2 separate regions of the Homo sapiens genome follow, and region 2 is linked to region 1. Evidence: promoter capture Hi-C in 16 types of primary human blood cells and fetal thymus (Javierre and others, 2016). All regions are on one chromosome and are shown on one strand. The core of a region is centred on a gene start or on the middle of the fragment in contact, and the rest is flanking DNA. Distances in the headings are between cores, read along the strand shown. Region 1 holds the start of IGSF9B (immunoglobulin superfamily member 9B). Region 2 overlaps C11orf58 (chromosome 11 open reading frame 58).

Evidence for each region. Contacts are between HindIII fragments. The CHiCAGO score rates a contact against its expected background, and 5 or more counts as called.
Region 2: a contact is called between a fragment that was not itself captured here and the fragment with the promoter of IGSF9B in region 1, in 1 of 17 cell types (activated CD4 T cells). The highest score is 6.2, in activated CD4 T cells.

The regions. Positions count from the first base shown.
Region 1 is chr11:133,954,759-133,959,625 of GRCh38, forward strand. It overlaps IGSF9B (immunoglobulin superfamily member 9B), which reads right to left and starts at 2,210. Exons shown (of 20, transcript NM_001277285.4): 1 at 1,933-2,210. The coding sequence starts at 1,996. RefSeq lists a silencer at 2,039-2,388. The HindIII fragment of the contact is 2,603 bases long and covers 493-3,095 here.
Region 2 is chr11:16,742,238-16,747,104 of GRCh38, forward strand. It overlaps C11orf58 (chromosome 11 open reading frame 58), which reads left to right. Exons shown (of 5, transcript NM_014267.6): 2 at 2,364-2,447. Among named protein-coding and RNA genes, the nearest start is that of C11orf58, 6.0 kb to the left of the region's middle. The HindIII fragment of the contact is 3,409 bases long and covers 212-3,620 here.

The sequences.
Region 1 (4,867 bases), core at 960-3,459:
CACACAGAGCAATTGAGGCTAAGAAAGACCCCAAGACCAGCAAGGTCACCCTCTGCTTCCAGACAGGGGTACATGTCCAGCCATTCCAGACAGAAGGACCCCTCTGCACCCTGAAAGAGGGCATAACCTTCATGCCAGGCAGCCTTCAATTTTGGGAAGCCCTTCCTTCTATCTTGCGATTCTGCGTGTTGCTGCAGTATAAACTCACATTCCTTTATTCTGGGCTGAAACTTGCAAAGAAGTCCATTGCCCACCCTGACTTAGGTTCGGAGGCTATTTCAGAGCCTTCCTTCAGCGTCTCTTTTCTATTCAAAGATCCCAGCTCATCCTTTTGTGCTTTCAGGGACAGTCCCATAGCAGGAACATACCAAAAACGGGAGGGGAGGAGGATGCGGGCATTGGAAGACGGCAAGGAAATGGGGGAGAGGATGAGGCTACAGGCAGACTGTCAAGCGCAGCCCGATGCACCTCACATCCACCCCCCGTTCCGTAAGCTTCCGCCATCACCCTTGCCTCAGTGTTCCCACCTGACAAATGAAGAGTTTTAAAACCGTCCGGACCAACATGTCAGTTAACAAAATCACCCTTCGCTTCGCCCTCTGCTCGTTCTGTTTTCAGACACCACCACCCCCCTCAGAAGCAGAGGCGACATATTCATTCCATTCCGGAAAGTTTCCTGAAGCACGCCCCCCTGCACAGACGAGTGACGAGGGGACCCCGTGAGAGGCGCCTCCAGCCCACCCGGCGCCCCATGCCGCTGGGAGAGGGTTCTCTGTCGGCGAGTCCTGCCTGCTGACTCCCACCCACAGCGGGTTCTCTCCCGCCGCCATCTCCTCCGGCTTGGTGAACTTGCCCGCAGCCGGGTCGTGTCTGCGCGCTGACAGCCCTGAGCTCACAGTCCTGGCACCCTCCAGGCTCCGCTCCCACTTCCATACAAGGGCCGAGAGCCGGGGGTGCCACCCAGAGGCTTGTAGGTCGCTCTGCCCATCTCCAAAGCAAAAGCCCGCGCGCTCACGCACGCATCACCCAACTCGGTGGCTCCCCCCTTGCGTCTCCCCCAGCTCAGACCCAGGAAAGCGGAAAGAGAAAATCCCCCCTCCGCTCGGATTCACAGCGTGGGGACCCCCCCTTCCCCGCCCCTCCCCTCCCCCGCCGCCGCCCCCAGCCAGCTCTGCCTCGCAGCCTGGGGAGGGCGGCGTGGGGCCCGCGCGGCTGCGGCGCGCTCCCGGGGAACTTTTGCCTGGCCGGGGCCCAGGTGCGGCTGAGAGGCGCGGGGGCCGGCGGGGTCCAGCCAAAAGCGGACACACCTCGAAGCTGGCCTCATCAATCCTCCTCTCACCGGGCGCCCCTGCTAGGGGGATCCGACCTCCAGCTGCCAAGATGTGTGGGCAGGAGGGGCGCGAGCGGAGCGATGGACGCCCGCAGGGCCGCGCGAACCCGGGGCCTTAGACGCGGGTGCCGCCAGTCCCAGGGATCCTCCGGGTCGCGCCTCCCTGCAGGCGCTCCTCGCGGCGCGGGGCTCTAGCGTGCTGCAGCCTGCCCGGAGACCGCAAACTCCCGCAGCCAGAGTTTCCCGCAGCTCTGGGAGGCGGCCGCCGGGCAGGAGGCGACGGGCTAGGCGCGCCGGTGTGCACCGTGGGGCCCGTGGTGGGCGAAGTCGACCCAGGTTCCACTGCGTCCTTTCCCCGAGTGCCCGGCAGCCCGTGGGCTCTGGCCCCTTCCCGCCCGCCCCTCCAGCCCACGGCCCCCAGGCCCTCCCCGGCAATGCTCCCGGGCCGCCTGGCCCGCGTCGGAGCCCAAGCCTCACCCGCGGGAAGGCGCGCCGGGGAGCTGGGGAACCGGGGGGCCAAGGAGCCGGGAAACCGAGGGGCCGGGCGCGAGGGGCCGAGGGCGCCGGGAGGGGCAGGGGAGGGACGCCGCACTTCAACTCACCTTCAGCCGCAAGCCCTCGGGTGCCGATCACACTTGCTATGAAAGTGGCCACATACCAAATCATAGTACTACCGCGCCAGCCCGGAGCCTCATCCTATCGCAAAGTGCTCCCGCGCCCGCACGCGCCTCGCGCCCGAGCGCCCGCCTCGCGCCCGCCTCGCGCCGCCTACGCCCCGCGCCGGTGCTCCTGCAGCCCGGGTGGCCAGCTCTCCATCCCTCCTAGGCTCCGCTCGGCTCGGCGCGCGCCTCCCCGGCCCCGGCGCAGCGGCACCTGCACTACTCGCCCGGGCGGAGCGCAGCCAGGTCCACGGTGAAGCCTAGCCGGGCCGGGCCTCCGGAACCGCCCCCGCCGCCCGCCTATTGGGCGCCGCCCGCAAGCCGGGGGTCCGATTGGCTCAGCCTTCCGCCCGTCGCGGCGCGAAGGAGGCGAGCCCATTTCAAGGTGCGTTGAAGTGTGGCGAGCACAGAGCCGCAGAATCATGCGCATTGCCGGGGAGAAGGTGGTATAGCGTCTCTGCCCGCTTCTCTCTCGGCTCACACTGCGTGGCAAGTTTCTGGTGAGGGAAATGGTAGCTTCTAACGGGACCCTGGCGGGTCTCAATTACCCCGGACAGGTCTGAGGGAAGTGGAGCCCCCGCCCACTCATGGAACCCAACATCCGGTTTCCATCCGGCAAAAAGCAGTTCCCGAGAGGACCATGCTGATTCTATGATGGGGAAACCCAGGAGCCGGCGGCCCGGGAGAGCCGGGGAACGTCCTTCGCCGGAGATCTTTTCAAAGAGGTCACGCGCCGCCTCCCCACCCCGTCTCCCTCCGCACCCAGACACGTCCCCAGAGCAGCGCACCACCCCCTCCAAACGTGATGCAGACCGGGGGATGACTAAAATGACCTCTCAAAGTCGCTAAGATTTAGAGTGAGTCATTGGCTCAGCTGCGAAGTGCCACAGACCCCTCAGGAACACTCGTGCACACACACTCCACCCCCAGTGCTGGTCACTGCTGCTCATCATTACTGAATCCCGACTCCAAGCAGTCAAAGTTGGGTCTTTTTCCCACTTCTCCTGATAAAGGCTGCTTCCTCACGCACATGGTTCCTCCCCTCTCCACCTTACTCGGAGCCCAGCCCCGACTCGGCCGCATGAAACCAAGATGGGTTTGGGGGAAGCTTTAGGAGTCTGGGATGGAGGAGACCCAGGGAAAGGGAAGGAGCTTCTCATCCTACAGAGGAATGTAAATAGGAAACTGGAAGGTCTTCGTATGTTCCAGTCTCCCTACCCTAGCCTGTCTGCTTCCCCTCCCCCAATACAGTTGTATTTGCAGAAGAAATAAATGAGTGTCATGGAAACATCTACTACAAACAATCACCTCACACCAGCGCTCAGAGGCTGCAGTGAAGATGTTTGTTCTTTCAAGGAGTGAAGGCAGTGGTAAGAATCACACCGCTCCCTGGGATGGGCTGTTGGCCAAGGAAGGAAGGCAGAGGGTCAGCGAGCGAGAGCTCAGGAATTTCATCCTCTCAAAGCACTCGTTAGCCACAAAGCCCTGGCTCCAGGACATGAAGCTCCCAAAACAACAAGAAGGAGACTTGCTTCTGGGAAAGCGTGCACACAGGTACACACACATGCACAAAAAGTGGCCTTGAACACCGGAGGTGGAGCATTCCCTGACACCGGAAGCCTCTTAGCTCACCGCCAGCTGGGAGGCAGAAAGAGGCCCCCAACAGAGCAGTCAGTGAGCACATGGATAAAGGTCGAGGGCCTGGATAGATCCAGAGAACCAGGACTGTTGAATAACCTTCTACCCTACCCACCCCTCCACCTGTGCAAACACACTCAAGATGCATAACTTGGGGCCATCTCTCCCTGAGCCATGATTTTGGTTCTCTTCTTGGGCAAAGATGCCTTTCTGGGGACAATGAAGTGAGCTGCTCCAGGTCTCATTGATGCAGTGATCTCCAGGTCTCATTGATGCAGTGATTTCCAGGTGGCATGACCCAGAATAACTCCACCCCCAACACACACACACACATATACATACACACACACTTACACACTTTCCCAGGGCCCCGGGACTGTAAAGACATATTGGAATCCATTTGCAGAATTGGTCATAACAGGATCCTTCTCCTCCCACAACCTCTAAGCAGCTAACTGTGGCCTAGAGAAAAGTGCCGGATCCACAAAGCCTGGCCCTAGTTCCTCACCATTGTTAGGTATGGAGTGGGAAACATCAGGTCTCAGAGAAACCCTCTCCTAGGGGCCTGCAGGGCAAGGAAAAAGATGGAGCCACTCTCACCACCCATCTTGATTGCTTTGTCTGGCCATCCATTTGTCCTACTCAGGGTTCTGCCTCCTGCTAGGAAAGTAGAACTGTCTGTCAGAATGGATGGCGGGCATGGAGGCTCATGCCAGTAGTCTCAGCTCCTCAGGAGGCTGAAGCAGGAGTATTGCCTGAGCACAGGAGTTCTAGGCTCAGTGATCATGCCACTGCACTCCAGCCTGGGTGACAGAATGAGACCCTGTTAAAAAACAAACAAAAACAACAACAAAAGTGTCTGTCAAATTGGAAAGAAAAAAACACGTAACAAGCTTTAGAACATGAGTTGGGTTGGGAAGGGGTTCGAAGGATCTATCTAAAGAGGAGAACAAATTTCTTCTGGATAATTCTACTGGAAACAGAGTGGAACAAGGGATGAAGGCAGAGAGGAAGGGGAAGAAAATTAAGATACAAAGGGAAAAGTTCGTCATCATCATCATCATTAGACATGTCTCAACTGGGTTTCAGATCAGCTAAAGAGAGATATACTGTATCAGCTTACAGTGAGGAGTGAGTCTGATCAAATCTTTTCCTCTTGGCGTATGGCTGAGCTTTGGACCCAGAAAGGATGGTTGCCCCTTCCTAGAATAGACACATCCAGTTGAGTGTTCAAGGGGAG
Region 2 (4,867 bases), core at 666-3,165, about 120 Mb before region 1:
CTTTCATCTGTCTCATTTGATCATGGACAGTATGATGTGGAAAAAACACAGGATGGTCAGAGGATCAAAGGAAGTCACTTAGCCTCTCTGTGCCTCAGTGTCTTAAGACAGTCTTTTAAAAAGGCATCTCTTTATAGATAAGGAGTTAAAATTAAGTTAAATGTCAGATCCTGGCTTACAGAGCAAGTGATTTAGTGATTGTCAGAACTGAAGCTTCACCATTACTTTAACTATATTGAGCCAGAAATAGTTAAGAACTAAATGGCCCATAAAAATATATGAGGGGGGTCACATGGAAAAAAGTAGAGATTTGGAACTTAGGGAACCAAAATTATGAGAGCATATAAGCCCTTCCACTAATGAGAATTTAGAAGTGCAAATGGGTCCAGGTTGGTACAAATGCTTTAACTCTCATATGCCCAGGGGAAATAGTGGTTTTTTTAAATATTCTTTTAGTCTTTTACAAATAATTTTTAGAAATAATAATGGGAGATAGTGCAAAACAACTTTATTAGGAATTTTAATGTGAATTTAACAATAGCAAACCGAAATTTATATTCTTTGTTTTCCTGATTTTGATGTACATATAGTCATCCTTCAGTATGCTAAATGTGGGGGATTGGTTCCAGGACCCACCCACCTCTTTGGCAAATCTTGCATACTCAAGTTCTGCAGCCAGCCCTGTGGAACCTGAGAATAGGAAAAATCAGCCTTCCATATACTTGGGATGGATCTGCATTTGGTTGAAAAAAATCCACTTATAAGGGACCCTTGAAGTTCAAACCTGTCTCGGATTTGCATCATCAAAATACAATACTTGAGGAATTTTTGAAACCTATTGCTTACAATTTTGTAATTGTCATCCTTGCTCCATAATTGCAAAACATTTTTATTTTTAGATTATAAACTTAATTAGAATGATAAATTCGGTGAATATTTTTATTTCATTTTCCTTCCAGTCACCTTGTGTACACATCTGCCTTCACCCTTTGTCCATTTGCAACCAAATCAAGTAAATTTTGATGCATAAACATTGTAAAAGATGAGATAAAACACTCACACCTCCTTTTAGAAAATGGGATGATCCTGGCTCTTACTGTGAAATATTGCAAGATGAAGTCCTTCCTGCTGATGGCTCTCCCAGTGAGAGTACATTTCTTGTTTGTCTTTTTTTTCTTTTTCTTGTCAATTCTTGGGTGGGAGAAAAGCCTTCTAATATTTCCTCATCCAAAAACTCATAGTCTGAGATTTTTGCAGTTAATTTTATCATGATTAGTCTAGAATACGACTGCCTTTCATTTTGCATTCACCTTCTTCGTCTAATAATGATTAATGCCTTCTGTCAGTTTTTTCTCTTTGCCATTATGAATGGAAAATGAAAAATTGTGAATTCCCATCGGTGTTCAGTGAAAGCTAAAAGTAGACAACAGGTATGATGTCTTGAAAGATGATGATGAAATACTTTGGACAATACAATGAGAAAACTAATATCTTAAAAACTATTTAGTTATTTTTAGCATAGTTGAGAATAATGAATTATAAATAATGAATTATAAATAATGAACTATTAAAAACTATTAAAAAACAACAGTTTTTACATTTGTTTCAAAATGTAGGGAAAAAATACGCTCACTAGGATTCCATCATATTTCTTAGATTTATAAGAGTTCAGTGGACTCATTTGATAATTGCAAGATAGCATGAGTTTTAGTCTGTTCTTTTAAAAAATAAGTTTTCTCTTTGTTCTTTGGAAGACTTTTAAGAAAGAATAAAAGTAATGACATCTCAATCCTAACAAGTAACTAGAACTGCTAAAAAAAAAAAAAAAAAGGCAACTGAAAAGTTAAAATTTTCTCTCTTAAAAGTTAGCTCACTGATAAAGGCAGAATTTTTAACTTCAACTAACAACTGTGGCTGCCATCTAAGTTCAGAGTACTAGGTGCTCTAGGACCCTACCCTGCGAGGCAGTGGGTCTCAAAGTGTGGTCCCCAGATAAATAGCATCAGCAATCATTTAAGAATTTGTTGAAATTCAAATCCTAGAGCTCCACCCCAGACCCGCTGAATCTCTGGGGCTGTAGCCCTGCAGTCTGTTTTAACAAGCCCTCTAGGTGACGCTGATAGAGGCAAACTTTTGAGACTCAGCTCTGGCTGTAGGAGAACTAAAGGATTCTGCTGTGAGGTAATAGAAAAGGAGTAAATTTGAATGTGATGAATATGCTTAACTTCCTAAGCAAGAAAAATGAACGCTGTTTATAGTTACAACTGACAGGGGAAAAAAACTTGAGAGTTACAGGTAGACTTTAGATTTCGTAATACTTATTTTTATGCAAAAAAAATTTAATCAACCAATTTTTTTTCTAGCTGGGATCTAGCAATTGGGAGGCAGCAGACTTGGGTAATGAAGAGAGAAAACAAAAGTTCTTGAGACTTATGGGTGCAGGAAAGGTAAGCATCAGATGGTGTGCATTTTTACCTTTTCTGTGAAAATATTGCCATTTTTATGTATGCTAAGTAAGAAGGACTGAATATACTTGGATTCCATTTTCCTGTTCTGTGTGATTTCTTTTGGCTTTGGGAAATACATGTGGCCTAACCAAGCACATAAAATTTATATTATTTTTGAGCCACTTCTAGGATTCTCTGTCCGTATAGTTTGAAGACTGTACAGAGAAAAATTTGGTTCAAGGAGGCTGTATAGGAGAAAAGAGATGTCAAAGTTTATGATTTGCCATATGTTGGCCCAGTGGTTTGATAGAATATATTTCTTCTGGGTAGGTTATCTTGTGGGAACCTCTGGCCAAAGTGAAAAGGCTGTCATATTTTATAGCTCCCTCCAGCCCTTGAAGTAGTAACCAGAGGAATATCCTTTATCAAAAACTTAATTTTAAGACTACACTTTCAGAGATTATTTCTATAGTTTGTTACTAGATAGAGAAGTTTCTCTGAATGTGTAGAACACCAGGGGGAAAGAAAACCTTAATTTTAAAAATGTTCAAGATACTTTGAAATGCCTGTCAGTTTGGTTAACGTTAATAGAAGGTACAGTTGACCCTTGAGCAATGTGGGGGTTAGGGGTGCTGGTTCTGCAGGCAGTCAGAAGTTTGCATATAACTTTTGACTCCCCAACAACTTAACTACTAATAGCCTACTGTTGACTGGAAGTCTTACTGATAACATAATTATCAGTTAACACATATTTTGGGTGTTAAATGTATTATATCCTGTATTCTTACAATAAAGAAAAGGAAATGTTATCAAGAAAATTATAAGGAAGAGAAAATAATTGACTCTTCATTAATTGGAAGTGGATTATCATAAAGGTCTTCATCTTCATAGTTTTCATGTTGAGTGGGCTGAAAAGGAGGGATTGTCTTACTGTCTGGGAGTGGCAGAGGCAGAAGTATATTCAAGTATAAGTGGATCCACACAGTTTAATCCTGTGTTCAGGGTCAACTATATAAAACAAGTGCCAGGAAAATATCTATTGTAAAAACCTTTCTTTATCCTAGCAGTTTATACAGGGATCTCTAGATACTTAGTTTTTGTAAGCAAGTAAATTTATTTTCCTAACATTGTCCTAACAGACTTCCTACAAACTAAATTGAAAAGAAATAGGAAAGCTTTTTTTCTCTTTTTTTAAGCACATTAAAATGAAATTCTGCTCTTTGTTTTGTTATGCACATGGGAATACATTCATTCATTTTCCCAACAATTACAGACTACCTACTACTGTGCTGGATCCTGGGTGGTCATATAGATCAATAATACATGTTTGAAGCTATTATGTAATGGAGGAAACCAGATAATAGCAATACAGAATTGTAATTGCTGTGAGAAAGCCATGCACATAGTGCTGTGGAATCACAGAGGGCAGCTAACTCTGGTTTAGCAGTGCAAGAAAGCTTCCCCAAAATAGAATTGATCTGAATCTCAAAGGATGAGAAGGAGTTAGCCAGACTACAACAGTAGGTTTGGGGATAGGAAGAGGTCATGTAAAACACTGAGACCTATTTAAATAAAGCATTTGTATAATATCTCATTAATCGAGATTTCCCAATTTGTAATTTGTCATAGAAAATAGTCTGCAATTTCTCTTGTTTCATGCAAATATATTAAGTCCTCACTTAACATCCCTTGTGGTTCTTGGAAACTAACCTTTGGCAAACTGACAATAAAGTTGTTTCACTGTAACACTGATAAGGAGGAAAATTGTTTTCATTATAGGTTGTTTCAACTAAAATCAGTTAAAATCGAAGTTTCCAAGAACCTATCATTGAAAATTAAGTGAGGACTTAAAAGATTTGTTAAGGATATGTAAGGTAAGTGTTAGTTTAGGGGCCATATTCAACTTAGTAGAATGAAACTTATTCAAGTACTTAGGAAGAACATCCTAATATAAAATATATGGAAGTTGACTAACTAGTAAATAGGTTGTTCAGCATAGATTAAATTCTCTTTTTTTTGTTGTTGTTGTTTTGAGACAGTCTCACTGCAACCTCTGCCTCCCGGGTTCAAGCAGTTCTCTGCCTCAGCCTCCCAAGTAGCTGGGATTACAGGCACCTGCCACCATGACTGGCTAATTTTTGTATTTTTAGTAGAGTCAGGGCTTCACCGTTTGAACTCCTGACCTCGTGATCCACCCTCCTTTGCCTCCCAAAGTGCTGGGATTACAGGCATGAGCCACTGCGCCTGGCCCATAGATTAAATTCTTTGTGAGGCCAAGATTGTAGCTTTGATCTTCATATGGGGTGTTTAGAGGTATTCCATTTTGTGGCCACAAAGTATATTTGTAATCCTAGCCGGCTATCATGAATATTTTATTGGTCACAGGAAGAACCAGCTAAGAACATATGAATAGATCAGTG